4 separate regions of the Homo sapiens genome follow, and all the other regions are linked to region 1. Evidence: promoter capture Hi-C in human tissues and cell types (Jung and others, 2019). All regions are on one chromosome and are shown on one strand. Each heading gives the region's core, a stretch centred on a gene start or on the middle of the fragment in contact. The rest is flanking DNA. Distances are from core to core; before and after follow the strand shown.

What was found. Contacts are between HindIII fragments. The study calls those that stand out against the background at their distance.
Region 2: a fragment that was not itself captured here is called in contact with the fragment with the promoter of ALG12 in region 1 in 2 of the 25 tissues and cell types used here (H1 embryonic stem cells and lymphoblastoid cells).
Region 3: a fragment that was not itself captured here is called in contact with the fragment with the promoter of ALG12 in region 1 in 1 of the 25 tissues and cell types used here (spleen).
Region 4: a contact is called between a fragment that was not itself captured here and the fragment with the promoter of ALG12 in region 1, in 1 of the 25 tissues and cell types used here (spleen).

Annotation. Positions count from the first base shown.
Region 1 is chr22:49,913,736-49,921,420 of GRCh38, forward strand. ALG12 (ALG12 alpha-1,6-mannosyltransferase) reads right to left here and starts at 4,703. Exons shown (of 10, transcript NM_024105.4): 1 at 4,528-4,703; 2 at 1-108. The coding sequence starts at 30. CRELD2 (CRELD disulfide isomerase 2) reads left to right here and starts at 4,899. Exons shown (of 10, transcript NM_024324.5): 1 at 4,899-5,163; 2 at 5,495-5,577; 3 at 5,995-6,105; 4 at 6,421-6,512. The coding sequence starts at 5,035. RefSeq lists silencers at 4,293-4,492, 4,603-5,102. The HindIII fragment of the contact is 10,539 bases long and covers 1,694-7,685 here.
Region 2 is chr22:49,666,776-49,674,460 of GRCh38, forward strand. It overlaps LOC124905145 (a long non-coding RNA gene), which reads right to left and starts at 2,634. Exons shown (of 2, transcript XR_007068151.1): 1 at 1,595-2,634. RefSeq lists silencers at 2,472-2,672, 3,231-3,280, 4,021-4,070. The HindIII fragment of the contact is 6,404 bases long and covers 1-6,260 here.
Region 3 is chr22:49,743,790-49,751,474 of GRCh38, forward strand. No RefSeq gene overlaps it. Among named protein-coding and RNA genes, the nearest start is that of BRD1, 80 kb to the right of the region's middle. The HindIII fragment of the contact is 5,781 bases long and covers 2,139-7,685 here.
Region 4 is chr22:49,786,774-49,794,458 of GRCh38, forward strand. It overlaps BRD1 (bromodomain containing 1), which reads right to left. Exons shown (of 13, transcript NM_001304808.3): 7 at 7,261-7,521; 8 at 617-1,114. Among named protein-coding and RNA genes, the nearest start is that of BRD1, 37 kb to the right of the region's middle. The HindIII fragment of the contact is 3,563 bases long and covers 1,878-5,440 here.

The sequences.
Region 1 (7,685 bases), core at 3,453-5,952:
CCGCCTGCCTGATGACCCCTTTCCAGCCATTCCAGGCTTTCAGCTTCACGTACCTTCACAGGCCAACAGTGCGAGACACCAGCCGTTAGCACTGCCACTCCACGCATGCTGGAAAAGTGGAAACAGATTCCTGAGGTTCGAAAGTCACGCTTGCGCTCACGTTTGGGAGATCCGGGTAAAGGGTTAGCAGAATTCTCTGAACTACTGTCTTAGTCGCACTACTACAAATCTGAAAACGCATCAAGATGGAAAGTTTGGAGAAAAAATCACACTTGAGAATCTTTCATACTGTAACCAGTGATCTGACACTTCCAGCTCTGTGAATGTTTTTCTAGGCAGAAGGATCTCAGTCGCAGAACCCTGAGTCTGACCAGGCCTGGGCCACGAGGGCAATGGAGGGTGGTAAATGGCCCCTGCCCCCCAGTCTAAATCTGGCAGGAGAGTCAGCAAAACCCAGGCTTGGCCCCGAGGGAACCGGCTGAAGAAGACGGAATGGGAGGCTGAGGGGTGCCAGTTAGCTGGGTGGGAGGCACCAAGCTGGAGAGTGGTGGACAGGGGCCCCGGGAGGGCAAGAAACTGAACGTAGTACAGCTGCTGGGACACAGGGCTCGAGTGGCCAGCAAAGCCCCCGCTCCCAGGAATGGTGGGATGGGGCTGTGGACGCCTGCGCCGAACCCCACCCTGGGGGCTGGGAGAAGCCATGGCCGGCTTTCCCAAAGGTGGCACCACACTGGCCATGAGCCTGCATGTGAGCCTGGGAAGACTGGCAATGGGTCCCCCAAACACTAACAGGACAACCTCAGGGGCCCGTGGCACGGAGCTTCCTGAGAGGCCAGCAACATGTCCAGCTGCTACACGTGAGAGACCAAGGGAGGGGAGGGGGCAAACTCTTCACGTTTCTGGCTTCTTTTAAAACAGATTTGATTTTATTCAATCCAAACCAGAAGGGCCAGAAGCAAAGGGAGAGAGAACCCCAGGGCTTACCATTTATTAAAACTACTTTAAAAATTTTTTTTAAGAGACAGCGTCTTACTCTGTCACCCAAGCTGGAGTGCAGTGGAGTGATCATGGCTCACTGCAGCCTCAAACTCCTGGGATCCTTTTGCCTGAGCCTCCTGAGTAGCCGCAGCTACAGGTGTGGGTCACCACACTCAGCTAAGTTTTCTTATTTTTTGTAAAGACAGGGTCTTGCTTTGTAGCCCAGGCTGGTATGGAATTCCTGGCTTCAAGCCATCTTCCTACCTTGGCCTCCTGAAGTATTGGGATTACAGGCGTGGGCCACCATGCCCAGCCAAAACTATCTTTTGATCAAACGGAGAGTTAAGAAGTATACAAAGATGGCAACCAAAGGAAAATCTGTAGATTAGAAGGAAGGAGAACCCTATTTGATATGGTGGGCAGGGGGTGGAGAGAAAGAAAAAAGAAAGCTTTAATAATTTTACGACTGAAATGGTATGCAGTTCTCTCCTTTGCCAAATATAAAAACCTGGGGCCGGGCGCGGTCGCTCATTCCCGTAATCCCAGCTCTTTGGGAGGCTGAGGGCCAGGTGCGGTGGCTCATTCCCATAATCCCAGCTCTTCGGGAGGCTGAGGTGGGTGGATCACGAGGTCAGCAGATCAAGACCATCCTGGCCAACATGGTGAAACCCTGTCTCTACTAAAAATACAAAAATTAGCTGGGCATGGTAGTGCACGCCTATAATCCCAGCTACTCGGGAGGCTAAGGCAGGAGAATCGCTTGAGCCCAGGAGGCAGAGGCCGCAGTGAGCCGAGATCACACCACTGAAATCCAGTCTGGGCCACAGAGCGTGACTCCGTCTCAGAAATAAATAAATAGATAATAAAAAAATTTAAAAAAATAAACTTGGTATCAAACAAAGAGAAAGGTCGAAGGACTAGGTTAGGAATCACTAACTGAGGGAGGGCCCACTCAGCTGTCTCCCACTTGCTAAGACACAAGCTTTTTGACGGTGGGGGGTTTTTGATGCTGGATGATTTTTCCCACCAGCGCAGCCTCAGCACCAAGGACAGAGGCCAGCCGCTGTGGCCTGAAGGCTGCCTCGCTGCCACCTCCCCTGCTGGACTCATCCTGCGGGCAGGGCTTGCTTGGTGGACTCACTGCTGAATCAGCAAAGCCTGCCGCACAGTAGGCACTCAACAAGGCTGCCGAAGAAGAAATCGGTAAAAACTCCTACATGGGGTTCTCATCACACCAGCTCACGTGCTTATTAAAAATTCCAGCAGCCGGGAGCGGTGGCTCATTCCTGTAATCCCAGCACTTTGGGAGGCTGAGGCGGGTGGATCACAAGGTCAAGAGATCGAGACCAGCTTGGCCAACATGGTAAAACCCCGTCTCTACTAAAAATACAAAAAAATTAGCTGGAGTGGTGGCGAGTAGTCCCAGCTACTTGGGAGGCTGAGGCAGGAGAATGGTGTGAACCCAGGAGGTGGAGCTTGCAGTGAGCCGAGATCGCGCCACTGCACTCCTGCCTGGGCGACAGAGCAAGACTCCATCTCAAAAATAAATAAATAAATTAATTAAATTAAATAAAAATATGTTCCAACGGCCGGGCGTGGTGGCTCATGCCTGTAATCCCAGCACTTTGGGAGGCTGAGGTGGGTGGATCACAAGGTCAGGAATTCAAGACCAGCCTAGCCAGCATGGTGAAACCTCATCTCTACTAAAAATACAAAAATTAGCTGGGCATGGTGGTGTGCGCCTGTAATCCCAACTACTTGGAAGGCAGAGGAGGAGAATTGCTTGAACTCGGGAGGCAGAGGTTGCAGCAAGCCAAGATCGCACCACTGTACTCCAGCCTGGACAACAGAGCCAGACTCCGTCTCAAAAAAAAAGAAATAGGAAGCAAGCCGGATGTGTTGGCTCACGCCTGTAATTCCAGCTACTCAGGAGTTCAAGACCAACCTGGGCTACAGAGCCAGACCCCATCTCCACAAAAATAATCCCAGCTACTCAGGAAGCTGACATGGGGGGTACTGCTTGAGGCCCGGAGTTCAAGACCAACTTGGGCTACATCATGAGACCCCATTTCTACAAAAATAAAAAATAAAACGGAACGGGGAGCATCTACGTGCCAAGATGTGGGAGGTGCACACAGCAAGTGCTGCTTGGCAGTCCCCCACAACCCCACTCCACACCTCTCCACCCAGGGGAGTTCCCCAGCAAGGAAGAGTTCAGCTGTGGGGTGAAAACATTACGTGCTGACTCTGACACTCCTGGCGGGCCCCCAGCACCTCCTCGGACCCAACAAGGTGTGCCTTCTGCTGATGACCAGCACAGCTCACTTTCGAGGGCATGAGAAGACCAAGGGTGAGTCTGGATTCTCTGCCAGGAGCACGGGAAGACCAAGTCAACACCAGCAAGCACGAAAACCACGACGAACCCCCCACCAGGCGAGGGTGAACGGACACTGTCCTGCACTAGCCCACTCTGCTGGGCAGCTGGGCAGCAGCTGTGGCTAATCTAAGTGACGGGTGCTTCGAGAGCACCCACAGGTTAAAACGGGCCCAGGCCATGACACTTTAAAATGGTGGTTTACAGAACAATGGCATCTCAGATTAGGGAATGACCTGCAAAGACCCTCTTGTCCCCATCAATCCAGATTTTAAGGCCTCTACCGAAATTGATCAAATCAGGCTAAGCATGGTGGCTCACGCCTGTAACCCTAGCACTTTGGGAGGCTGAGGCAGGCAGATCGCTTGAGGTCAGGACTTCGAGACCAGCCTGGCCAACATGGTGAAACCCCGTCTCTACTAAAAATACAAAAATTAGCCGGACCTGGTGGTGGGTGCCTGTAATCCCAACTTAGGAGGCTGAGGCAGCAGAATCACAGGAACCTGGAAGGCGGAGCTTGCAGTGAGCTGAGATCGCGCCACTGCACTCCAGCCTGGGCGACAAAGTGAGACTCCGTCTCAAAAAAACAGAAAAGAAACTGGTCAAATCAGATGTTACTTTTTTTTTTTTTAAATGTGCAGTGTTATCTGCACTCCTTCCTTCCACAGGCAGGAGTTCTCTGAAATCCAGACGCTGCACGTTTTATTTCCCCTAATTTAAACCAGGGGTTCCTGAACATGAGCGAGTGTTCATCACCTCAAGCGCCTGTAGAAATGCAGATCCCCAGCCCCCAGAGACCCTAAGTGGACCCCAGATCCCCAGCCCCCAGGTGAAAAACCCATCCCCCAGGTGGGAGGTCCGGCCCCAGGTGAGGAGCCCGGCCCCAGGTGAGAGGTCCAGCCCCAGGTGAGAGGTCGGGCCCCCGGATGAGAGGTCCGGCCCCCGGGTGAGAGGTCTGGCCCCCAGGTGACAGGTCCAGCCCCAGGTGAGGAGCCCGGCCCCAAGTGAGGGGTGCAGCCCCAGGTAAGGAGCACGGGGCTGTGACGCGTGGACATGCGCGGTGAGGCCTCAGGAATCCAGCGCCAGCGCCAGCTCGGGTCGCGCCCTCGCCCGCCTCCTCCCTGGTCTCGCCGCGCGCCCGCCTGAAGGCCCCGGTCGCGGCAGCGCGCACTGACCTCCGCAGCTCCCGGCGGCGTCCTTCGAAGCGCGGCTGCCTGGGCCAGCCTCGGCAGGAAGCAGGACGGCGGAAACAGAACAGAGCCCGAATCTAAAGTCCTTGCCCAAATCTAAAGTGGCTACCGCAGCCCCGGCCGCTACGGCCGCAGAGACCCTCTGTGCCCTGAGTAAAGATGGCCGCCGCGGGCTGCGCGCGAGGGGCGGGGAGCGGGAGGCGGGGTCGGACCTGCACGCCCCGCCCCCGGACTCCTGGCGGCCGCTGATCCGGGGCCTTCCCATTGGTCACCTCTCGTGGCGAACTCGGATTGGGCCATATCAGGCCGGGGCGGGTCCCATCAACCAATAGCGGCGCGGGGCTGGCGGGTGGGGCGGGGCCTCGCCGGCGCCGTCAAGTAGCCTGGGGGACAGGCCGGCGCGGCTGGGAGCGGGTGGGCGGCCGGGAGGCCGGAGCAGCACGGCCGCAGGACCTGGAGCTCCGGCTGCGTCTTCCCGCAGCGCTACCCGCCATGCGCCTGCCGCGCCGGGCCGCGCTGGGGCTCCTGCCGCTTCTGCTGCTGCTGCCGCCCGCGCCGGAGGCCGCCAAGAAGCCGACGCCCTGCCACCGGTGCCGGGGGCTGGTGGACAAGTTTAACCAGGTGGGAAGGGGCCGGGCGGGGTCGTCAACCTTGGGCCCGGGGTCCCCCTCACCCTGCATCCGGGGTCGCCCCACCTTGGGCCCAGGGTCGCCCTCACCCTGGATCCGGGGTCCCCCTCACCCTGGATTCGGGATCCCCCTCACCGTCGATCCAGAGTCCCTCCACCGTGGTCCTGGAGTCCCCCTCACCCTTGACCCGGATCCACCCCCACCGTGGAACCAGGGTCGACGCCACCGTGGGCCTGGAGTCCCCTCACCCTCGACCTGGGCTCGCCCCCACCCTGGACCCGGGTCAGGTGGTACCAAGCACTATGGGCACTGTCTCCTCGCAGGGGATGGTGGACACCGCAAAGAAGAACTTTGGCGGCGGGAACACGGCTTGGGAGGAAAAGACGCTGTCCAAGTACGAGTCCAGGTGGGTGCCCTGGAGCACCCCTGTGGGTCTTGGCCTGGCGCTGTCCTGGGAAGTCGTGTCCTGCCTTTGGTGCCTGTGTTAATGACAGGGAGACAGAACAGCCCCCGAGGCACCAGTCACCCGTCCGAGTCACCTCGGCTTCTCCCTGAGGACTAATGGCTGGCCCCTCTCTGGCCTTCCAGCTTCTGCTCTGGTCCCTACCCCCTCAACAGACAGTGGCTTTTCAAAATGTAAACTGGAACACCAGCCCCACTTGTGGGAACCGCTCCTGGCTTCCCCTGACAGTGGGGTCCCCTTATTCTCTGTGCCCGGAGTCCTGGCTCCCCGGCCCCTGCACCCAGGTTGGCGTATTGGTTCGGATTTTTCTTCACTGCCTTGGAGGCGCTGACGGTGGGCCGGTGTGGGCCTGTGTTTCAGCGAGATTCGCCTGCTGGAGATCCTGGAGGGGCTGTGCGAGAGCAGCGACTTCGAATGCAATCAGATGCTAGAGGCGCAGGAGGAGCACCTGGAGGCCTGGTGGCTGCAGCTGTGAGTGCCTTAAAACCTCTTAGAAGATACTTTTTATTTTCCAACTTAGAATTTGAAATAACCTCAGACTTAGAAAGGTACAGGAACAGTAGGGAGCTCCCACCTGCCTCGCACCCACCTTACCCCTGCATTACCGTTTTTTATCACCAGAGTCAGCGATCAAAACCAGGAAATTAAGGAGAAGATTCTGTCCACACCTAGACTCTTGTTTCCTGGACCTTACAATACTCCAGAGCATATGTTACGTTCAGCTGCATGTTTGTTTTAAAGAACCGTGTCTGCTGGGATTCAGTGAATGTTTTCCTCCATCCTCAGGAAGAGCGAATATCCTGACTTATTCGAGTGGTTTTGTGTGAAGACACTGAAAGTGTGCTGCTCTCCAGGAACCTACGGTCCCGACTGTCTCGGTGCGTTTCTCCTCAGGGAAATCCCATCTCCTACGTCACTTCCCCTCTTCTTCTCATGATTCTTGGGAGGTAAAAGCACAGAGGGGACCTGGGGTGCATCAGCTTTCTGTAGGGTCTGGGACCCTGCCGGATGGCTGCCTCCCCCATCCCCAACACAGCTTGGAGCACTTCGCACCGTCTGGCTGCAGCCTCACCACTAACCTCATGCTTTAGCGTAAAACTCTGAGTATGTCTTCCCAGCTGTGCTGTTAATTCAGGGGTTCACAGACTCAGGTTGTTCACAGCTGAGTCCACTCACCTGAGAGTCTGTCCTGACTGACCTGTCCAGGTGCTTCTCCCTGTGTGCACAGAGGTGACCACACCACAACTTCTGTGGCTGCTATTGCAGAGAGCGCAGGGCACTGGGTGTCTATCAGGCTGGGCACATGGCCTTGAGCCCCAATGGGTGCCAAGGGACAGGGCTCTTCTGTGAAGAAGTGTGCATTGAAACTGAAGTCACGGTTTACTGTTTATAAAAGCCAATCTCGTGGTCAAGCGAGATCAGGTAGCAGAAGTTTCAGGTTCAGACCCCCCACCCGCCCACCATCAGCCTTCTGCCAGCCCCTGCTGCTGTCCCTGGCATGCACTGGAGGCCGCAGCTAATGTTCCCACTCTCCCTGCAGTCCCCGCGCCTGACGCGTCAGTGTCCCTATCACCATGTTTCAGCTGAGGCTGCCCAAAGCCACACAAAGTGCAGTCATGTGTAACGACCAGGCGTGTTCTGAGAAATGCGTCATTAGGCGACTTTGTCATGGTGCAAACATCACAGCGTGCACTCCACACGCCACACGCCACACGCCTAGATGGTGCAGCCGCTCTGCACCTAGGCTGCCTGGCAGGCCCTGCTGCTCCCAGGCCGCACACCTGCACGGCTCGTGAGGGTCCTGAGTACTGTGGGCCATTTGGCACGTGGTAAGAATGTGTCACCTGAACACATCTAAACATAGAACAGGTAATGAGGCACATTGTGATGTCACTAGGCAATAAGAGCCGCTCAGCTTTAGTATCATCTTAGGGGACAGCTGTGCTATGCAGGGTCCCTTGTTGACCTAAACGTCATCATGCAGCACGTGGCCATAGTGAAGCCCAGGAGCCTGTGGCTTGCTCCACTCAGGCGATCCACCGCCAGCCCTG
Region 2 (7,685 bases), core at 1,809-4,308, 250 kb before region 1:
TGCCTGTAAATCCCAGCACTTTGGGAGGCCGAGGCAGGTGGCTCACCTGAGGTCAGGAGTTCGAGACCAGTCTGACCAACATGGTGAAACCCCATCTCTACTAAAAACACAAAAATTAGCCAGGCCTGGTGGCAGGCACCTGTAATCCCAGCTACTCGGGAGGCTGAGGCAGGAGAATCACTTGAATGTGGGAGGCAGAGATTGCAGTGAGCCAATATTGCACCACTGCACTCCAGACGGAGTGAGACCTCATCTCCAAAAAAGAGAGGAAGGCAGGAAGGGAGGGAGGGAGGCAGGCAGTAAATAACTTCATGATCTCAGAGTAGAAATGAATTTCTCTAAAAAGGCACAAAGAAAAACTCCTACCCATAAAAGGAAAATATTGATAAATTCAACTACATTAAAAGTGAAAGCTTATGTTCACCCAAAAACTATCCACAACATGTAAAAGAAAAACAAAAAAACAAAAGAAGCTCTTTAAAGACCAAAAGCAACAGAGAAGAGACAAAAGTCCTGAACTGAAACTTGGTAGACAGGAAATATCCGCGGGCGGAAAACGCGCTTCCTGTTCCAAGTCACAGGGAAATGCAAATCCAAACACTGAGCGGCCACAGCACACCCTCCCCCTCAACACCCCCACCCTCCCCCCACACCCCTCCACCCCGGCTCCCCAGGGTCCCGTGCTGGTTCGGCTTAGGCTTTGAGGACCTACACCATCCCTCTGAGAGCAGCCCAGCCTTACCCGGAATGGGCCCAGCCAGCCTGGGGTCCTGCAGGACAAGGCAGGTCAGGGACGGTGGAGGCACCGAGAGAAAGCGCAGCATGAGGGGATCCTGACCACCCTGGGGCCCCCAGCCCAGCACGCGCAGGTGGGGGGAGGTCCTGACCATCCTGGGGCCCCCAGCTCAGCACATGCAGGTGGGAGGAGGTCCTGACCACCCTGGGGCCCCCAGCTCAGCACGCGCAGGTGGGGGGAGGTCCTGACCATCCTGGGGCCCCCAGCTCAGCACATGCAGGTGGGGGGAGGTCCTGACCACCCTGGGGCCCCCAGCCCAGCACGCGCAGGTGGGGGGAGGTCCTGACCATCCTGGGGCCCCCAGCTCAGCACATGCAGGTGGGGGGAGGTCCTGACCATCCTGGGGCCCCCAGCTCAGCACATGCAGGTGGGGGGAGGTCCTGACCACCCTGGGGCCCCCAGCTCAGCACGCGCAGGTGGGGGGAGGTCCTGACCATCCTGGGGCCCCCAGCTCAGCAGGCGCAGGTGGGAGGAGGTCCTGACCACCCTGGGGCCCCCAGCTCAGCACGCGCAGGTGGGGGGAGGTCCTGACCATCCTGGGGCCCCCAGCTCAGCACATGCAGGTGGGAGGAGGTCCTGACCACCCTGGGGCCTCCCAGCTCAGCGCTCAAGTTGGGGCGAGGGGGGGGCGGGGGGGCGGGCAGGGGCAGGGTCCTGACCACCCAGGGCCCCCGGCTCAGCACACGCAGGTGGAAGAAGGGGAGCTAAGTACCTGGCAGCTTGTCCCACATCCTCCCTCTCCAAAGACAAAGCATCATTTTCCTGCCCCCTGAAGTCGGCCATGCAGCCCCCCAGCACCTGCAGAAGCGTGATCCCACACTGGGGTCCAGGCCTTGCCACCATGGTGGAGGTCCTGCTGGGGTCCCGGCCCTGTCACCGGAGGCCACAGCTGAGTCGCTGCCGTGGTGGCTCTGCTGCCAGGGTTCCAGCCCTGTCACTGGAGGCCAAGGCTGAGTTGGGAGATGAGGCCACAGCAGCAGCAAGGGCAGGGGACTCCACTCCACAGGCCAGGCGGGAGATGCGGGGCCCGATGGGAGAAGGCCCTCCAAGGGTGGCACAGCACACCCCGTGTGGGAGGGAGGAGACGCCCCAACCACAGAACAGACAAAGCCACGTGGAAGGCGACTCAGCAAAGAAAACGCGTGATCCGAGTCCCTTACAAAGACGGCTCCACGACACAACGTCCAGAAACAGGTGAAAACTGGCCGGTGTTCCAGGATGCCCGCAGTCTGGAAAACTTCCGAGGAACATTTTATAGTCAATTTTGTGATTTCAAGAAAATGTGTTAAACAGTCATGAGGGCTCTGTCAGGCATCCAGCACCATTTTAAACGTGTAAAACACGAACACACCCCACTATCACAGTGACACTCTGTAAAAGGAACCAACGCTTCCTGGATGCAAAGTCCAGTTGACAGTGACCCACGGACCCCAAAAGCTGCCCAGCTCCGACGCAGCTGCTCTTCCTGGCTCCCGGCCTGGCCCTGAGAGCCCTTAGATGGTCACTGCTCTATCCCTGTGTCCGGAATTGGTGGGTTCTATGGTCTCACTGACTTCAAGAATGAAGCCACAGACCCTCGCAGTGAGTGTTACAGTTCTTACAGGCAGTGCGTCTGGAGTTTGTTCCTTCTGATGTTTGGATGTGTTCCGAGTTTCCTCCTTCTGGTGGGTTCATGGTCTTGCTGGCTCAGAAGTGAAGCTACAGACCTTAGCAGTAAGTATTACAGCTCATAAAGGCAGTACTGACCCAAAGACCAGAGTGAGCAGCAGCAAGATTTAGCGCAAAGAGCAAAAGAACAAAGCTTCCACACTGCTGGGAAAGGAACCCAGCAAGTTACCACTGCTGGCCCTGGGCAGCCTGCTTTTATTCCCTTATCTGTCCCCACCCACATCCTGCTGATTGGTCCATTTTACAGAGAGCTGATTGGTCTGTTTTGACAGGGTGCTGATTGGTACGTTTACAACCCCTGAGCTGGACAGAAAAGTTCTCCAAGTCCCCACTAGATTAGCTATACACAGAACACTGATTGGGGCATTCACAAACCTTGAGCTAGACACAGGGTGCTGATTGGTGCATTTACAAACCTTGAGCTAGACATGGAGTGCTGATTGGTGCATTTACAAACCTTGAGCTAGACACAGGGTGCTGATTGGTGCATTTACAAACCTTGAGCTAGACACAGAGTGCTGATTGGTGTATTTACAATCCCTTAGCTAGACATAAAGGTTCTCCAAGTCCCCAACAGATTAGCTAGATACAGAGTGCTGATTTACAAACCTTGAGCTAGGGACAGGGTGCTGATTGGTGTATTTACAAACCTTGAGCTAGACACAGGGTGCAGATTGGTGTATTTACAATCCCTTAGCTAGACATAAAGGTTCTCCAAGTCCCCAATAGATTAGCTAGATACAGAGTGCTGATTTACAAACCTTGAGCTAGGGACAGGGTGCTGATTGGTGCATTTACAAACCTTGAGCTACACACAGAGTGCTGATTGGTGTATTTACAATCCCTTAGCTAGACATAAACGTTCTCCAAGTCCCCACTAGACTCAGGAGCCTAGCTGGCTTCAGCCAGTGGATCCTGCACCGAGGCTGCAGGTGGAGCTGCCTGCCAGTCCCGTGCGCCCGCACTCCTCAGCCCTTGGGCGGTGGATGGGACTGGGCGCCGCGGAGCAGGGGGCGGCGCTCGTCGGGGAGGCTCGGGCCGCGCAGGAGCCCAGGGTGGCGCAGGGAGGCTCGGACATGGCGGGCTGCAGGTACCGAGCCCTGCCCCGCGGGGAGGCAGCTGAGGCCCGGCGGGAATTCGAGCGCAGCGCCGGGGGGCCGGCACTGCTGGGGGACCCGGCGCACCCTCCACAGCTGCCGGCCCGGGTGCTAAGGCCCTCACTGCCCGGCCCGCGGCGCCAGCCGGCCGCTCCCAGCGCGAGGCCCACGGAGCCCACGCCCACCCGGAACTCGCGCCGGCCCTCGAGCGCCGCGCAGCCCCGGTTCGCGCCCGCGCCCCTCCCTCCACACCTCCCCGCAAGCAGAGGGAGCCGGCTCCGGCCTCGGCCAGCCAGAGAGGGGCCCCCACAGCGCGGTGGCGGGATGCAGGGCTCCTCGGGCGTGGCCAGAGCGGACGCCCAGGCCGAGGAGGCGCTGAGAGTGAGTGACGGCTGCGTGGGCTGCCACCTGTCACCCGGCCCGGGAGAGCGCTTCCCTCCCAGCGGGCAGCCTGCCCCAGCCAGCCCTCGGCTCTCAACCCGGGGGTCAGCGTTTCCTGCAGGAGCCTCTGCTAGCTCCAGCTGGAGCACTGGCTGGTTGAGGGGAGGGGATTGAACACTTGGAACCCAGACCCCGGCTGGGGATGGGGAGGGAGGCTGGAGACCACCATCTGCTCCCACAGGGCTGAGTCTTGGTGCCGGCCAAGCCCTGACCCCCTCCAGCCCCACCCACGCCCCTCGTCACCCCCGGCCCCTGCCGTCCCTGCGTCCTCTGCACCCCCAGCCCCTCACGTCACCTCCTGCCCTCCCCACGCAAATCCTGCGCTCCTGTCACACGGAGGGGAACAAAACAGGGTAGCAGCAGGGACGTGGGGGTGTGGCCGGGACCCCAGATGAAAAGGAAGGCAGGTGGCACCCTTCGACCAGCGTCCAGGCAGCGTTTCGGATTCCCCCAAAAGGAGGGCGGGGCTGAGAAGCAGGACAGGAACCACAGGATTCTCCGCCCCGCGCCACAGGTCAGCGGAGAGAGAGAGGCCTGCGGATTGTGACGCTTCTTCTCGAATCCCTGTCTTGTTCTCACTGTATAGTCACACACACAGCCCGTCACATGTATCACGTCGTGAAACAAATATCCGTGGTGTGGATGCACCCCCACTAACTTAGCCCTTTAGCAGCAAGAAAATCCCATTTATCCTTAAATCCTCAGCACCCAGCCCAGGGTCTACCATAAAAGTTAAAGAGTCGAGGCTGTAATAAGGGGTGGGGGCAGATGTTTCACCAGATCAGATGCCCCCCCAAGCTCCTTCCAAACCGCGAGCGTTGCTCTCTCTCCAGTTCTAAAGCGGACGGGGGGAGTTTGTCTTTCCCGAGTGTGTTCGAAATCCCTCTCCTTCCTTCAGTCACTGCGGGTCATTCAAAAACTACTCAGATGCTGAAACGTAGCTTTCCACCTTGGCTTGGGAACAGTGGTTCGAAAGTACTTCTTGAAACCTATGGAAATGCAGTATCTCTCCAAAATGTTCTGTTTGGGAGGTAATGATGGGATCGCAGGTGTTCGGAACAGAACGTCGTTAAGCGTCCTCAGCCCCGCTGGAGCCAGGGCGGAGGGGGCGGCTCCGACCTGTCCCTTCTCATCACATCAGTTACTTTCCATTAGCGGGAGGGGAAATCAGCAGATGCTGGTGAGGGGGGTCCCGGCGGGAAGCAGACCCCTTCTGTGCATAAACACTCAGATCTTGGACTGTGAACAAGGTCTTTTGGCAACACTTCTGGTTAATACGTTTCATGAATTTATGAAATCCTAGCACTCAACGTTTCTCCACGTGGATTATTGCCAGGCTGTGAGGGGAGAGGGCTCTGACCAGCATCTGCCGATCTGAACTTCCAACAGAGATAAATGGGGAGACACTGTTTCCTCAACCAGGAATCGTTCGGCTTCTGTGGGGGCTGCAATTATCCTTCAAAAACCGAGCGCCTCAAGGCCCTTAAGGAAAAATTGCCCCAGCGGGGGTGGGGGCGGGGGGCGGCTTCTGAAGCAGGAAATGCTCTGCTGGGGGGAGGCGCGGGGAACACTGAGGATTCAACCCCCATCAGACATAAGAGCAGGTTCTGGTCCTCACTTCAGCCTCCAGCATCTTCTCGCGGGGAACACTGAGGATTCAACCCCCATCAGACATAAGGGCAGGTTCTGGTCCTCACTTCACCCTCCAGCATCTTCTCGCGGGGAACACTGAGGATTCAACCCCCGTCAGACATAAGGGCAGGTTCTGGTCCTCACTTCACCCTCCAGCATCTTCTCGCGGGGAACTCTGAGGATTCAACCCCCATCAGACATAAGGGCAGGTTCTGGTCCCCACTTCACCCTCCAGCATCTTCTCGCGGGGAACACTGAGGATTCAACCCCCGTCAGACATAAGGGCAGGTTCTGGTCCTCACTTCACCCTCCAGCATCTTCTCGCGGGGAACTCTGAGGATTCAACCCCCATCAGACATAAGGGCAGGTTCTGGTCCCCACTTCACCCTCCAGCATCTTCTCGCGGGGAACACTGAGGATTCAACCCCCATCAGACATAAGGGCAGGTTCTGGTCCTCACTTCACCCTCCAGCATCTTCTCGCGGGGAACACTGAGGATTCAACCCCCGTCAGACATAAGGGCAGGTTCTGGTCCTCACTTCACCCTCCAGCATCTTCTCGCGGGGAACTCTGAGGATTCAACCCCCGTCAGACATAAGCGCAGGTTCTGTTCCTCACTTCACCCTCCAGCATCTTCTCCACAGAGAAGGGAAGGAGAAAGAGGAGGAATCATTCATTCTGAAATAAATTATCTGTGGAAAACAGAATTCGACTGATAAAGAGTCCACTTCTCAGCAGCAATCCTAAACGAGCACCTGGCACACAGCCGGGGCCCAGGGGGCCTGTCCAGCGAGTGAACGAGTGACCCAGGGATGTCTCATCAGAGGCCAGTGCACCAGCACAGCCGGCAGTCACACGGGGATGGCCACGCACAAACGCACGGGGCTCCAGTTAATTCTCCAAGAAGAAAAACATTTTGTTCTGAAAAACGCGACTGTGATCTTGAAAGTGGTATTTCGTGGATGTGTCCCAAGGGCCCAGCACAGTGTCTGGCACGTTTAGAGCCTCTGAAAAGAGAGGAGAAAGAAGTGAAGGGAGGAAGGAGACAGAGGGCAGGGGAGGGGGAAGGGAGGGTGGGGAAGGGGAAGGGAGGGAGAGGGGAAGGGAGGGAGAGGGGGAAGGAGGGGAAGGGGGAAGAGGGAAGGTGGGGAGGGGGAAGGGGAAGGGGGAGGGAGGACAGAGGGGGGGGAAGGGAGGAGGAGGGCGGGGGAGGGAGAGGGGGAAGGGGGAGGGAGGGGGATGGAGGGGGAGGGGGAGTGAGGGGGAGGGGGAGTCCCTAGAACCCGCCCCCGCCCCCATGGAGGAAAGGAGCCGGCATTCCTGCAGCATTTGGCTCCTCCAAGGCCCCTTCACTTCCCTTCCGAGAGGTCACTGTGGCTCTGGACTCTCCCAGCACAAGGAGTGGACATGGACAACAGTGAAAGTCCTACTTGAGTTGGCCAGTGTCTCAGCCTTCAAAACCTCCCCTCGGCCAGTGAAGTGACCCCTAACCTCCCTCAGTTCCTCGCCCTGTACCCCATCATCAGCTGCACCCCTGAGAGCCATGGAGGGGGACAGGAGGGCGGGGCCGAGTGGGGGGCACCCTGGGCTTCACGGAGCTTGGCCTCTGCAGGACCCAGCCTCATGTCGCTTCAGGGCTCCATCGGCTTGGGAGAAGTGCAGCTGCAAGGAGAAGCCAGGAATGTTACTTCACTTCGCTTGGAATTCTAACCTCTTTCCTCACCGCAGCCTGAATGTTCCAGTCAGTGCATTAACACACAGAGAGGAGGTTGTCAATCCCCTCGCAAATGTGGCCACTTAACAAAGATGCAGCTTATTGTCAGCGCGTCTTTCATGAGCTTGTAAAAGAGACACAAAGAGGCTGGGTGCGGTGGCTCACTCCTGTAATCCCAACACTTTGGAAGGCCAAGGTAGGCAGATTGCCTGAGGTCAGCAGTTCGAGACCAGCCTGGCTAACATGGTGAAACCCCATCTCTACCATAAATACAAAAATTAGCCGAGCGTGGTGGCACGCACCTGTAATCCCTGCTACTTGGGAGGCTGAGGCAGGA
Region 3 (7,685 bases), core at 3,779-6,278, 170 kb before region 1:
TACAAGGAGCTTAAACAAATTTGCAAGAAGAAATCAAACAACCATATCAAAAAGTGGGCAAAGGATATCAACAGACACTTCTCAAAAGAAAACATTTATGCGGCCAATAAACATATGAAAAAAAGCTAATCATCACTGGTCATTAGAGAAATGCAAATCAAAACCACAATGAGATACCATCTCACACCAGTTAGAATGGCAATTAATAAAAAGTCAGGAAACAACAGATGCTGGCAAGGCTGTGGAGAAATAGGGACACTTTTACACTGTTGGTGGGAGTATAAATTAGTTCAACAATTGTGAAAGATGTGGAAGACAGTGTGGCAATTCTTCAAGGATCTAGAACCAGAAATACCATTTGAGCCAGCAATCCCATTACTGGGTATATACCCAAAGGATTATAAATCATACTACTATAAAGACACATGCACATGTATGTTTATTGCAGCACTATTTACAATGGCAAAGACTTGGAAGCAACCCAAATGCCCATCAGTGATAGACTGAATAAAGAAAATGTAGCACATGTATACCATGGAATACTATGCAGCCATAAAAAAAGAACGAGTTCATGTCCTTTTCAGAGACACAGATGCGGATGGAAGCCACCATTCTCAGCAAACTAACACAGGAACAGAAAACCAAACGCCGCATGTTCTCACTCATAAGTGGGAGTTGAACAATGAGAACACATGAACCATAGGGAGGGGGACATCATACACCAGTGCCTGTTGGAGGGTGGGGGGCAAGGGGAGGGAGAGCATTAGGACAAATACCTAATGCATGCCGGGCTTAAAACCTAGATGATGGGTTGATAGGTGCAGCAAACCACCATGGCACATGTATACCTATGTAACAAACCTGCACATTCTGCACATGTATCTCAGAACTTAAAGTAAAATAAAAAATTTAAAAAAGAAAGTTACTGAGGCTGATTTAATGGTCTAGTATGTGATCTATCATGAAGAACATCCCACGTGTGCTTGAAAAGAATGAGTGTTCGGCTGTTGTGTGGAGTGGTCTGCAGATACCACTTAGATCTACTTGGTTGCAATGTGTTTGAGTTTTTCATTTCCTGTTGCTATTCTGCCTGATTGTTCTATCCATTATTGAAAATGAAGCATTGATGTCTCCAACTATTTTTGTTGAAATGTCTATGTCTCCATTCAATTCTGTCAGTTTTTGTTTTACATATCTTGGGGCTCTGTTGTTAGGTGCCTATGTTTACAATTGTTATTTTACCTGAAGAATTGGCTTTTATCATTATAAAATATTCCTCTTTATCCCTAGTAACACTTTTTGTTTTAAATTTCTGTAAGTACTCCAGCTCTCTTATGGTTGCTGTTTGCATGGTATGTATTTTTCATCCTTTTACTTTCAGCATTTTTGTATCTCTGAATCTAAAATCTGTCTCCTTTAGACAGTATATAATTGGATATTGGTTCTTTATCCAATCTATCTCTGCCTTTTTATTGGATTGTTTAATCCATTCACATTTAATGTAATTATGAATATAGTTGAATTTGTCTGCATTTTACCTTTTGTTCCCTATATGTCTCGTGGTCTCATGTCTTTTTATTGTTGTTGTTGTTAATCTATTCCTCCTTTACTGATTTCTTGTTTAATTAAGTGAATATTTTCTAGTGTAATTTTTTTTATTCCTTTCATGGCTTTTTCACCATATTTTAAGTTATTTTCTTAGTGGTTGCTCTACAGCTTACCACATATGCTTAACATATCAGAATCTACTTCAGATTTATATGAACTCCAATTATATGTTGGCATGTTATCCTTATATTATTTGTTATATTTTCCTTGTTTATATTATCCTTTCTTATTTACCACTTATTATTCTCTTCATTTGTCTTTTCTTTAACTTTTTTTTTTTTTTTTGGTATAGATGAGGCCTCACTGTGTTGACCAGGCTGGTCTTGGAACTCAGCCTCCCAAAGTGCCGAGATTTCAGGCATGAACCACCCTGGCCACCTTCATTTGTTTCTGTGGGTCTGAGTTACCATCTGTTGTGACTTCTTTACTTCAATACAATGTTGTTCCCCATACCTCCTTTGTGCTATTGTCAAATATATTCAATTTTTGTTTGTTACAGGTCCAGGAATACAACCATATACATATTGTTTTACACAATTGATTTTCAAATCACTCAAAGAAGAAATGTGCATTTATACTGTCTTTTGTAATTCATTATTACATTTCTAGGGCTCTTTTTTTTTGGTGTGGATTCACATTTCCATCTGGGATCACTTTCAAGGCAGATCTGCCAACCATGAATTATTTTGGCTTTTGTTTATCTGAGAACTTATTTGGCCTTCATGTTGAAAGATCGTTTTCAGGCTATGACAATCTTGATTTACAGGTTTGTTTGGGTTTTTTTTTCAGTCCTTTAAATATGTCATCCTACTGCCTCCTGGCCTTCATTGTTTCTGATGAAAAGTCACCGGTTAATCTTGTTGGAGTGACCATGACCATGACCATGAGGAGTCATTTTTTTCTCTTGCTACTTTCAGGATGTTTTTTGGTTGTTTTTTGTTTTGTTTTGTGTTTTGCTTTCGGCTTTCACTATTTACTATGATGAGTCTGCATGGGGATTTCTTTGCATTTATTCTACTTTGAGGTCACAGGGTTTCTCAGATGTATAGATGAATGTGTTCAGCAAATCTGGGAAATTTCCAGGCATTATTTGTTCACATATTTGTTCTGTCTTTTCTCCTTTTCTTCTCAAGTAAACCTGTGATGAGGATGTTGGTGACTGAAAGTTGTCCCACATTGCTCTGAGGTTCTATTCATTTTTCTTCCATTTTCTGTTTTTCAGATTGCATATCTCTATGAATCTATATTCACATTCACTGATTCCTTCTTCTGCCAGTTCTAAACCACCATTGACCCCCTCTAAAAAAATCTTTTTCAATTATTTTTCAACTCCAACATTTTCACTTGATTCTTTCATAGTTTCTTTTTATTCATAGTCTGTATTTGAGTCTCTATTGATAGTTTCTATTCATACTCTCACTGTCTTCATGTCTTCCTTTACTTCTTTCTTGTAGAAAGTAAAAGTTCCTCTTCAAAGTTTCCCTTCTTGTTAAAGAATAAATCATGAGTGTTAGAAATAATAGTTTCTTTTAAAGACTAACTTTATGCTAGACATGCTCATGGACATGTAGTACATTCTGTGTCCTTGTACTTTAACCAAGATATCTGTGCTGGACGTGCTCACAGGCATGTCCCAGCTCGCAGCCTATACCCCTTCCTTATTTGGGAATGTTATTACTTTTCTAATTCTTTCATAAGCAGCTTCCTCTTTTCCTTTATCCTTCCATTACTTTTACCTATTTAGAAAAGTTTTATACTGTTAGCCAATCGGGTTTTAGTTTAAATTGTGCTGTCTGGCTCTAGCCAATGGAGACAGGACACAGTAACAGGGACAAACTGCATAAGGGATAAAAATTGCTTCCCTCCTTTGTTCAGGTGTGCTCTCACCATTATTCCATCTGCGAGGAGCACCCTTTCTGCAGGAAGTAAAGATTGCCTTGCTGAGAGAATTAAATTTATGTTCAAGTGCTATTTCTTTGCAGCACCGGGGAGCAAGCATTTACATATAACAATTCTGCATGGTTTTCTTTATTTCTTTGACTGTATTAATGATGGATACTTGGAGGTCCCTGTCTGTTAAGTCTGGCATCTGATCCCTCCCATGGGCAGCTTCTGTTACTGCTCTTTTCCCTGTGTATCCGTCATGCATTCCTATTTATTTTAATGTCTCTTAGGTTTTGTTAAGAACTGGACATTTTAAATAATATTTTATAGTAACTCTGGATACTGATTCCCGACCCCCCACCCCCTAGGGCTTGTTTTTGTTGTTGTTTGAGTATTTATTTCTGACTTGGCTAGGTTACTTTAGTAACATTTATTTCCCCCGTAGAATGGCATTTCCCCTTTCAGTGGCATTCTCTAGTGGGCTCAGCCTTGGGTGTATACACAACCACCCTAGATGACAGCAGTTTTGTTTTCACTGGGGCTATTCCTGTCTCTTTCCCTGATCTCTCTGTTAAGCTCTCTGCCTCATTTGCCATTACCCTCAGCCTGTTAAGCTCCACTAATTACCTGCTGGTCGCTCTATTGTTTTTCACTAAGCCCTGGGGCATTAATTGCTCAGCATACTAATTCAATTAAATCCAGGCAGAAATAGTTTTGAGTTCCAGTCTTAGGTTGATTCTGACCCAGGAGGGCACTTCTTAGCTATCTCTTTACTTAGTTCTTCCAGCAAACTAGCTGGCCCGTGGTAACAGCTCATTGCTGTTAATTAGGAACTATTGTTTTCTTTTCTTTTTAACTTTAATTTTAGGTTCAGAGGTACATGTGCAAGTTTGTTATACAGGTAAACTCCTGTCATGGGGGTTTGTTGTGCAGATTATTTCATTACTCAGATACTAAGCCTAGTACCCAATAGTTATTTTTTCTTATCCTCTCCCTCCTCCCACCCTCAATTTTAACAGCACCTGATATATGGAAGGAACTCAACGGTTTCCTGAATTTTTGACTTAGCTTTCTTACAATAACGTATGATTTACACTTGTCTCATGCAGGCTAAAGGCAGAGGGAGCAGGCAGGGCTGCTTGGGGGTCTAAACCCACAAAGCCTGCCCCTGGGAAAGGGACTGGGTGCTGTGAGGCTTAGAGGCTCCAGCTCAGCCTGAAAGGTGCAGGTCAGGCCTCTGCTGGGAGGCAGGCAGCCCTTCAGGGGTGATTTTCATGGAGTGTGAAACTGGACCAGAGACCCCTACACACACCCGAGGCCCCTGGGCTCAGAGGTTAGAGGTCAGATGCTGCCCTTGTCTTCCTGTTTCCCCAGGAGGAGGCTGCCTACAGGACCCAGGACGATGGCACCCGGGTGCCCAGTGCACGCCTGGGGTCCCCACCACCAGTACCACCCCACCTACCATAGGCCCAGGACCTTGGGCTCAGCCCCAGCCCCAGAGGAAGGAGGAAACTGACAGGTCCAGGACCTTGGGCTCAGCCTCAGCCCCAGAGGAAGGAAGAGACCAAGGACAGCAGCACCTGGGTGCCCAGTGCACGCCTGGGGTCCCCACAACCAGTGCCATCCCCACCCCCTGCAGGCCGAGGACCGTGGGCTCAGCCCCAGCCCCGGCCCCAGCCCCAGCCCCAGCCCCAGCCCCAGCCCCAGAGGAAGGAGGCTGCAGGGCCCTCCACCTTCTGTACTCAGGGCCTGTCTGGAGTTTTCCTAATTAGCTCTCACTGTCTCCAGGTGATGTGAGCCAACTGCGTGTGTGTGACGCTATTCACAGCACACAGGGCAGAGCTGGTGCTCCCAACCACAGGTGTTCAGGGCACAGAGGCTGCCTTACTTGGCCTGGTTACACATGCAGCTTCTCTATTGATTGTCCGTCAAGCGAGCCTGCTCCAGACCCAGCTTCTGGGAGTCCTGAAGGACCCACAATCCCTAGGGTTATCCTGCCCGGCAACCCTAGGTAGTCCCACATCCTCCACCCACCAGCACAGGGGACGTTCATGAGCCCCACCCAGGCACAGAGCTGTGGGGAGGGGGCGTCTCGTGGAAGGTGAGCCTGGAGGCAGGGCCGTGCCCCTGGAGCCATACAGGGGCTCAAAAGGACCTCCTTTCCCCTCCTGGGGACACCAACTGGACTGCGTCCAGCCTGGGCCCTGGGTTCTCAGAGCTTTTCCCGGGAGAAAGACACCCCAGCCTCCCCTGACAAGCTTGTTCCCAGGACAGCAGCCGGGTTGGACGCCCAGTAAGGGGGCCTTGCCTCCTGCCCTCTCCATCAAGACAATCATACAGGGAAGAAAGGCTTCAGTGCCAGGGGAAAGTAGGGGGCCTAGGACAGAAGCAGCCCCCGGGGGAGGCAGGGGTCAGCCTCCAGGAGCTCCCGGTGGGGAAGAGCCTGGCAGAAATGTGAGCAGTGCTCTGGAATGAGTCAACCAGCGACAGCAGGCAAGTGGGGGCACCCTCCAATTGTCCTGAGAAGGGCCAGTTTCTGAGCCAAGGCTGCAGCAGCCTAAAGTCCCTGCGGCTGCAGCCTCCATCCCACCAGTCACAGCGACCAAGCCTTGTGGGGAAGACCTCGCCCTGCTCCCCTCTGGCCAACCGGGGTCTGCACTCTGAGCCTCTCCAGAGTGTCCGGCAGGGCCTGCAGGGCAGGAGGCAGCGCCCACTCCGTGGGGAGCACAGGTGCCCTTCACCCCTACCCCACCCACAGGGCTCCAGGCAGGACAGGCAGGGCAGGGGTCCGCAGCCCCCCACATGGCCATCCCGGGGCTCCACGGCATCACATGGAATGTCTCTGAGCAGCTCTGCCCGAGCCTTCCCCTCCAGAGCAGGCCCCGACCCCCAGCCCCAGGCTCACCCCAAGGCCCCCGTCCTCAGCCAGGGCCCCCATGCACTGCCCCAGGTGTCCCAGCCCTGATGGCTACTCCCCGGGGGTCCCACCGCAGTCCCTGTTTCACCCCTGACCCCTCTGCTGGGACATCCAGCCAGGGACCACTGGGCCCTGTGCCCTCCCATGGGGTTCAACGTCCCCACCCCATGGCGGCCTTCTGGGGACTCCCGTTGGGATCGTGGGGGCAGCACCAGTATGGGGCAGGGGACAGAGCCGATTCCCTGCGCAGGTGTGGTTTGGTCCGCGAGGGCTACGGGGTCCTGGGGGAACGGTGGGCGGCAACCAGGAGAGCCCGGCAGGGACCCCCCCCATGCCAGGCCCAGTGCGGCCAGGAGGACCCAAGAGGGGTGAATGAATGAATGAACGAATGAATGAATGAGGGAAGGAAGGGGAGGGGAGGGGAGGCCAGGCCCTGAGGGCAGGGCAGGTCCCACCCCTGTCTCAGGCCCCCCATGAGGCAGATGGGCCCACCCTGCAGGAGCCCCTCATTCACTGCCCTGGGAGATTCCCAGCCATGTCCTGCCCTGCGGGGCCTCGGGGTCCAGGGAAGAAGTGGCCCCCTCCGGCCCCTCACAGAGGCGCCCGCTGCACCTGAGGGTCCTCGACCCCACCCCGCCATCCCCCGGACCCCCGCCCTGGGCTCCAGCTTCCTCCCCACCAGCCCCACCAGCCCCGGGAAAGGCCACGCTGTCTCCTGCCTCCCCGCGGAGGTCTCATGAGCCGCCGCGCCCCGGGCTGCGAAGAAACACCCCAGTCCCCTCCCCCGCGACCCTCCCTGCCTCCTGGGTACCCTGCAGACCCCACACGGGACCCCCAGGCAGGTGTGACCTCGAAGAGAAGCCACATTTCACCACCTCCTCAGAGACTCAGATGAAGGTCCACACACTAAATGCAGATCTGGAGGAGGCGGAGCAGGGTCACTTCTGACTTTTTTTGTTTTTGTTTTTGTTTGAGATGGAATCTCGCTCTGTCGCCCAGGCTGGAGTGCGATCTCGCAGTGGTGCAATCTCGGCTCACTGCAAGCTCTGCCTCCCGGGTTCACGCCATTCTCCTGCCTCAGCCTCCCAAGTAGCTGGGACTACAGGCGACCACCACCAGGCCCGGCTAATTTTGTTTTTGTATTTTCAGTAGAGACGGGGTTTCACTGTGTTAGCCAGGATGGTATCAATCTCCTGACCTTGTGATCCGCCCACCTCGGCCTCCCAAAGCTCTGGGATCACAGGTGTGAGCCACCGTGCCCGGCCCAGACTTTTCT
Region 4 (7,685 bases), core at 2,409-4,908, 130 kb before region 1:
ACCAATTAAAACTACACCTGAATTCATTCTCAGTACTTTTTTAAAGATCAGAAGGGGCCAGGTGCAGCGGCTCACACATCTAATCCCAACACTTTGGGAGTCAGAGGCCAGGAGTTCAAGACCAGCCGGGACAACACAGCGAGACCCCCATCTCTACCAAAAATTTTCAAATTAGCTGGGAGTGGTGGTGTGCACCTGTAGTCCCAGCTACACAAGAGGCTGAGGCAGGAGGATCACCTGAGCCCAGGAGTTGGAGGCTGCAGTGAGCCACTCACTCCAGCCTGGGTGACAAAGCAAGACTCTCTTAAAAAAAAATCAGAGAGGAAGTATGTGGCAGAAGACAGGACCAAGGACCATCGACCCCTGGCCCAGGGCAGCCCAGCAAGGTTGCACAATCTCTCGTGGCAAACAGGCCCCCCACGAAGGCGCCGGCCTCAGACCCGCAACTCAAGGCTTTTCAAAGAAAACACTGCACTGTTGTCTTCTCTGGAAATTAAGAGAATGCTGCAAAAACAGAAGCTGGACACCCCCCCCCCCCCGTCACACCAATGATCCTGAAGGACGCTCCAGGCACTGGTCGGCAAGGGCGCCTCTCAGGGCCGCCCGCGGCATTTACCTGCGTCCAGGCGCTTTCCTGGGGACTCCTCCTCCACCTCGGAGTCTCCGCATGTGCTCCGCGACCTTTTCCTTGGCTGCAGAAGAGTCTCCAACCTCGGAAGGACTACAGACAAAAAGGTTTTGGTCCCTAGCTGAGGAGAAGTTGGCTGGGTTTCAGTGTTCTTGGCAGACTTTGGGGGGCTTACACTTTTCGATTTGCAGAAGAGAACAGAAGTGCGTCTGTTTACATCGCTTGCTGGCTCCGCCACCGCGGAGGCCGCCGCCGCCGGCACATCGCCACTACTGGCGCGGGTGGGCTCTGGAGGGCGTCCGCTTACCAGTGCGCTCTGAGTGCAAGCGCTATGTGATTCATTATCAAATGTGACTCTTTTGAAAAGTTTACTCTGCTCTGGGTTGAGTTCTACTGGTTTGAGGGTTGGTGGTTCTGAATTAGTCTCCGAGTTTGAAGGAAGAGGTAATGCATCTGATGGTTCAAGTTTAGGGGGAGATTTATCTCCTGAAAAAATTATAAATAAAGTGATTTTTGAAAACTGAAGATTATAAAATCTATTATAAAACTTACTATAAATGTGAAGTCCACCAAAATACTAATTCAGTTAAGGAAACAAGGCATCGCATGTACTGTCTGCTCGGCAGTGTGGGCCCCGTGGGCTCGGGCCACACTGTGTGTGCTTCCCTAACGCCAAAGGCTGCGGCCCTGGGTGCAGTGCCCAGGCACACAGTTACTCTCTGAAAAAAACTGTGAAAGATTATTTCACATGCGCCAATATTAAACACGTCACTCGAGTTCATGACAGTTTCTGCAATGAATAATTCACTTACCTTGAGGAAGAAAAGGTATCTCACATAACTAAAGGGGCCTTAAACGGGCATTCCCACAGAGCTCTACTGGGCCACGAAGTTAGCAAATAAAAGGAAGGCAACATTAAATCTGATCTCTGGTCAAGGTCTTAAGTCAAAAATGCAAAAACAAACAAACAAACAAAAAAAACAGGGAGTGGTGAGTGGCTGTGGATGATTTTCAAGAAAGGCAGGGAAAAAAGCCCCGCTCCCCACAGCACAGAAGTCCGTGCCACGTTCCCAAATATTGTGATGGGAGCTTTCAGGAAAAAAAAATCTGACTTTTAAAAATAAGAAGTCTTTGGAAAAAGACGGCTTTAACCTCTTTTTAAAGTCTTTTTGACATTATAAAAACCGGAAGTGTGAAATGGTAAAAAGCCCGAGGTCAGGAGGACGGCCTGGGGCTGGTCTGTGGGGCTCTGTGCACTGTCCCGAGTCCAGGGGGCCGGACAGGCTCTGGCACGAGGCTAACAGGGCGAGGCGACGCCACAACAAGCCAAGCCCAGCCACTGAGGCTTCCTTCCAAGCAGGACCGGTACTGACAACAGGAAGTGTGACATAAAACCAAGGATTTTGTGATTATTTAAAGTGACATAAAACACTTTAAATAATCCTTAGTATATATTATCACTGGGTACAGTTTTCATTTCATTAAACCTGCAAACTTTCCTAAAACCGTTTGAAGTATGTATGGTTACTATTGTCATTCAAAAAGTTGTTTTGAAAATACAAAACTACACAACTTAACAGGACTCAGAGCAATGTTTTGAGGCTGAAGAAAGTTCTCCCAAGGCTGGGCCATGACGCCGGGCAGCAGTGCTTTCGGCTGCGAGGTGCCTCTGATTTTAAATGACACTCGGCGCCTTAGAGCACCTCACAGCCAATTCAAATACAAGGGGGAAGCCTCACCTCAACAAAAAGCCTCCCGTGTCAGCCGCAGGGAGCACAGCTGTCATGTGGGAATGCTGGATCCCAAGGCAGGGGCACATGCGAGGTGACAAAACTCCCTCCCTCCTGTTCAATGTCGCCAACAGGCTTAAGGAAAAGGTGTTTGTGAAACACCTGGGAACACTGGCCGGAGGGAACTGGGCAATGCGGAGAAGGGCTGCTGAAAGGCTGCTCATGAGCATCCCTGGTGCCTGTACAGCAGCAGGAGGGGATTCAGCACTGAGCCTGCAGCGTCCTGACGCAGCTGGTGTCTGGGGCACAGGGCCTGGGGCCTCACTTCACTTCCTGCCTCCTCTTCCACCTCCTAGCCTCCCCCCCCCGCCCCGAGCTCTCGCCCTGATTACGACATTCAACTGCTCACTGCAATCCCAATGGCCTCTGCAGGGCCAAGGCCAGTGGTCAACCCCAGTCTTGGCCTCTATGGGTGCAACAGCACCCGGCCAGCAGAGATGGAGCCTGAAGGAGTCTCCTCCCAGCACCTCCGGGAGACCCCCCTTCCCCCAACCACCTACAGCCCACCTTCTCCACAGCTATCTAACGGGCACCGTAAACCCCCATCTCCTGCTTCTGGTGCAACCCTCAGAACCACCACTCCTGTCTGGCAGGAGCCCTGAGACGTGCAGACGTCCCTGCCTTGCAGCAGGCCCTCCCCAACCATGGTCCACAACCCCTCCTCCACACCTCCAGCTCTCGGCCCAGCTAGGATGCCCCATGTGGGACTCATAACCATCTCCACGCTGCAGGGACTTCCCTAACCCCTGGTCTATCCCAAAGCGGGCCCCTGTGGCCCTGTCTCAGCCATGCATGCACCCCACACGCCCCTGGCCTCTCTGCGGCAGCTCCACATGCAGGCCGGGCTCCAGCCGCCAGCACGCAGGCTAAAGGATGCGTTCCTGCAGCACTGACCAGAGGCACAAAGGAGGCCGTGGTCAGGAACAGAGGTCGCTGTCGTCTGGGTGCTCAGCCACCTGCCCAGCCGGGACCACACAGGCCCCTCCCCCAGCCGGGACCACAGAGGCCCCCGGACCGTTCAGTGCCTCAGTTCCTCATCCATAAAATCAGAAAAAAACAGGACCTGAGCCTCCAGGCTCCACGACACAACAGGCAAGCCCAACCCGTCCCTCGAGTGGAAATGTGACTGGAAGTTGACATACAAGAAGGAAGACTCCTCTCAAAGCTCACTGACTCTGGGCCATCTCAGGCTGTCACTGAACTGCACATGGGAAAAGCTCAGAACATGCTCGATACAACTCGGGCATAAGCCTCTCAGACCCCGTCAATGTATCAGTCAGGATCCTAGAATTCCAGTCCCTGGAACTTGTCACATATTCCAAATGGCAAAATGGTTATCTAATCCAAACCAGCTACTCTAAGAAACTAAAACCTAGTTAAGTCTGCAAGAACAATTCCGCAATATTTTGCCCACCTGGCCACCTGCTATGTCAATCAAAGGTTTCTGTATCGAAGCCACAAGACGCTTTGGAAAATCACAGCGTAACACAGGCAGACATTTCAGCTCACGAGCAGCAACCACACTGTCCCTCCAACAACCCTGCCTCAAGCCTCCGTCCTCTGCAATCCTGAAGGGACAAAGCTGCGTACTCCGCACCTTCTACCCCGAGGAACATGCATCCTTCCTTTCCTGAGGGCCACAGTTCTCCACGTGCTCAGCGCCCGTGCACGGCAGGGGGACTTCCACACGTGCACTTCAAGGGACCACAGCTGCCCTGGACTAAAGGGGACGCCCCGGAGCCTCTGGCAAGGGCATCACTGTGACTGGAAATCCCAAGGACTCGAAATGCAAGCCCCTTTCACCAGCTCACGGTGCGGACCCTGCTCCTCCTGACTGCACTGACCTGCCTCACCATGTCAGCAGACACCAACCTCAGCACAGGGTGGAGACAAGCCCTCTGCCAGCTGCAGATCCGTCCCACAGGCTCATCAGACAGGCTGGAATCCCAGCTGTGGCGTGGCCCCCACCCAGCTGACACGCAGCCCCGGGGAAGTCAGCCCTGGCAGGGCCAGCTCACAGCAACAGCCCGAACCTCTGCACTCGGCAGACTGAGTCGCGGCTACGGCAGAGCCTGCGGGAGGGCCTGTACAAGGGGCAGACCGGGGCCAACAGTGCAGCCCAGGAGGCATCTCCTTCCTTCAGACACTAAAGTCTCAGGGGCCTGGCACTCAACGGCTACAGCCTTGTTCAAGCTGCTTCAAGTGGAAGCAAAATATAAACACAACACACAGACTGTTAAATTACAGTTTAAGTGAGACTGTGTATTTGCCATTGAGGAATTACTCTTTTCAGGTGTGAAAATATTGTGGTTATATTTAAGAAAAATGATGGAGAGGCTTTACTGATGAGAACGTTCATGCTGGGTTTTTAAATGTCTGATTCTTGGTTTTCATCCTATTATAAGTATCGTAAGTCACATTTCTATACCAACCAACAAGCTTGCTTGTGGCTGTCTTCCCTAATGACTTCCCCATTCCAGTCTGGCACTCGCCTCTCCACAGACCCCCATCTTCTCTGAGGGGCAGGACCCCGCCCGCCCCACCTCTCCAGAGACCCCCAACTTCTCTGAGGGGCAGGACCCCACCCGCCTCACCTCGGAGTGGACTTTCAGGCCACTTGCTTCTCCACCCACCTTCCCATCAGCTCACAGGAAACGCCCTTTTCATCAATTGAGTCATTGTGAACATTGGGTGTAACAGGTGATTCGAGGCCACCTGTGTCTCAGTCACATTGTGTTTTCCTTACAATGGCCCCAGAAAAAAAATAAAAATAAAATGATTCCAGAGCTACAAAGCAACAAAAATGGTCTCCAAAGGCTCCTGCTAAGCGTTGGGTGTTATGAGGAGCCACGCTCACCACAGCGGAGGGCCAAGCAGCTCCAACCATGCGAGGTCCTCAACCATGCGAGGTCCTCAGTCCTGTGACCCAATAACCGTGCGGGGTCCTCAGCCCTGTGACCCAATGGCAATGGAGGAAGCCACTGATAAAAAAAAAAAGCTAAAAAGGTAACTTACTGCTCTACAGTGAAAATGGTACAACTGTGTGCGAAGAGAAGCGCTGGAAGCTATTTTGAGAATGGTGAGTGGACCTGCTGGCAACCTCCTCACAGCTCAGTCCTCAGGGCACAGAAGACAAGGACAGAAGGGCAGTCCACCTAGAGGGAGGCCCACACAGCCAGAGGATGCCTCGGTGGGCTGCACGGAAGCAAAGGCTGCGGGACCAGGCACCAGCCTGGACTCCTGGGCACAATGGGGCGGCCCAGGGCCCGGACAGGTATGGCTGCCAGAGGGTCCTGTAGGCAAACGTTCCTCAGAAAAAACACGAGGCCCCCAAAGCAGAGGAGGGATCACGTGCCAACAATAACAGCCTTTGGGAGAAGAGAAAACCAAGCGCTCACCTTGAAATAGAAAAGCCTTTATTCTATGGACCTAACGTAATTGACGCCAGCCCCAAAAGAGACATTCTAGAGTCTGGGTACTATACTATGGTGAACTAAACAGAAGAATCCCAGAACAGAACAACAAACAGGCACAAAATGAGCAAAAGGATGCATAAGAAATTCTCAGCTGTGTGCACAGGAGTAAGTTTCTAAGAGAAAGAAAAGCTTAATGGCTCTCATTCAAGTTGCCCAAATGTAAAACAGGATAAAAGGGGCGAAGCTCTGCAGACAGGAGCCACAAGAAGTTCAGGGGATGAAAAGGGCCCTGAGACCATGGGGACCCGCTGACCTGTGTGGCATCATGAAGACACTGCGTCACTCCGAGCACAGACGTCCATAAGAGATGAACGTCTTTGTTTTAAAAGAAAATTGTACAACAATTCTGTGTCTTATTTCAACTGTCTGCTGTTCTGACTTGGATGTGCAGGGGAAGGGCAAGAAGGCTGAGAACCAGCTGCCAATGTTGTGGCAAGAGGGTCTGACCCTACTGTCTGCTTCGTGTAACCGGAGCGTGTCAAGGTCAACTGCAGAGACACACGGCAAAACACAGTGGCAATGACTTTCTATCAACGTCTCCAAATCCGATTTAGTTTTAAAATTCCTCTTTCACCAAATATGGGACACACCAGCTCTACTTCCTCACCCTGCCAACCTAGATGTACACAGACCATCGCTCGTAAACTCCCTCCTCACCATGCCAAGCCTGCATTTGCCCTGGGTTTTGCTAGTTCTCCTTCTAGATAGGCGGATTTCTTCTCCTACATTTATTTCTTAGTCATAAAAACATCTTTGCTGCCTGGACCTTTCCCCAGACATTCTTTGGCAACGATCACGGCTGCTACCTACCAACTCTGCAGAGGAGCTGGCCGGGGACCCTCGGGGCAGACAAGGCCTCTGCAGGTACCGTCCCTCCCTTCACAACATCAGGGAGGAGTGTTTAAGTGCCAATAATCTAAAACAGCCCTTTCAAAATGCTGCATTTGATGGCCTAGCGCACAATTAAATGGCTCCCCGCCAATTTACAAAATGCAACAAAAACATTTCTCACTCTCATCATTCAGGCTACCTTTACTCTTCAACACAGTGTAAGATCTAAACCATTCTTTTCAAATAGTTTCTCAGGCCCAAGTTAAAGAGAAAAATTTTATTCTGTGCCTTAAATTTTATCAACTGATTATGTGAGAAAACACAGACAGCACAAATGATAACGTCTCCTTAAAAGGAAACAACAGCCCAGTGGGAAAATCAAGTGTTCCGGGATTTGTGAATTTTACGGAACTGGCGCTAACCTGAGCCTCCGTGCACACCAACGCTGCTGCCCGTGTCTGGGTCTGTGCCTGTGCCTGTGCCTGAGCCTGAGCCGTGACGGCAAGAAAGCGGGGCAGCCCTCACCGTGGCTTACCTTCCTCGCCCGCCTCCGGCCCCAGCGCAGCTCCGTCCTCTTCGAAGCCTTCCAAGCCTGGCCCCGTGGGCAGGGGCTGGCTGTGCTGCTGGCTCAGCTTGTTTCGGAGAAGGGCAATTTCCTTTTTGAGCAGCTTTGCCCGCTTGCTCCGGGAGCCGCTGGACTTCATAGCGCAGGTGAGGTCGAGCATGTCCAGCAGCTCTCTCAGCTGCTCCTCCAGGCCCAGGTGGGCTCTGTTGGCGGGGTCCAGCAACCTGTCCACTGAACCAAAGGACACATGCTGTCAGTCATCAGGTCCCACGCACCTTCTGGGAACACATCACCGGTCCCGTCTTTCAAATCACCTTCGGCCAAGGCCCTGAGAGTGGCTGTTAGCAACGAGGCCCAGGCCCTGCTCACCAGAGGCCCCTCCCCTGCACTCTGAA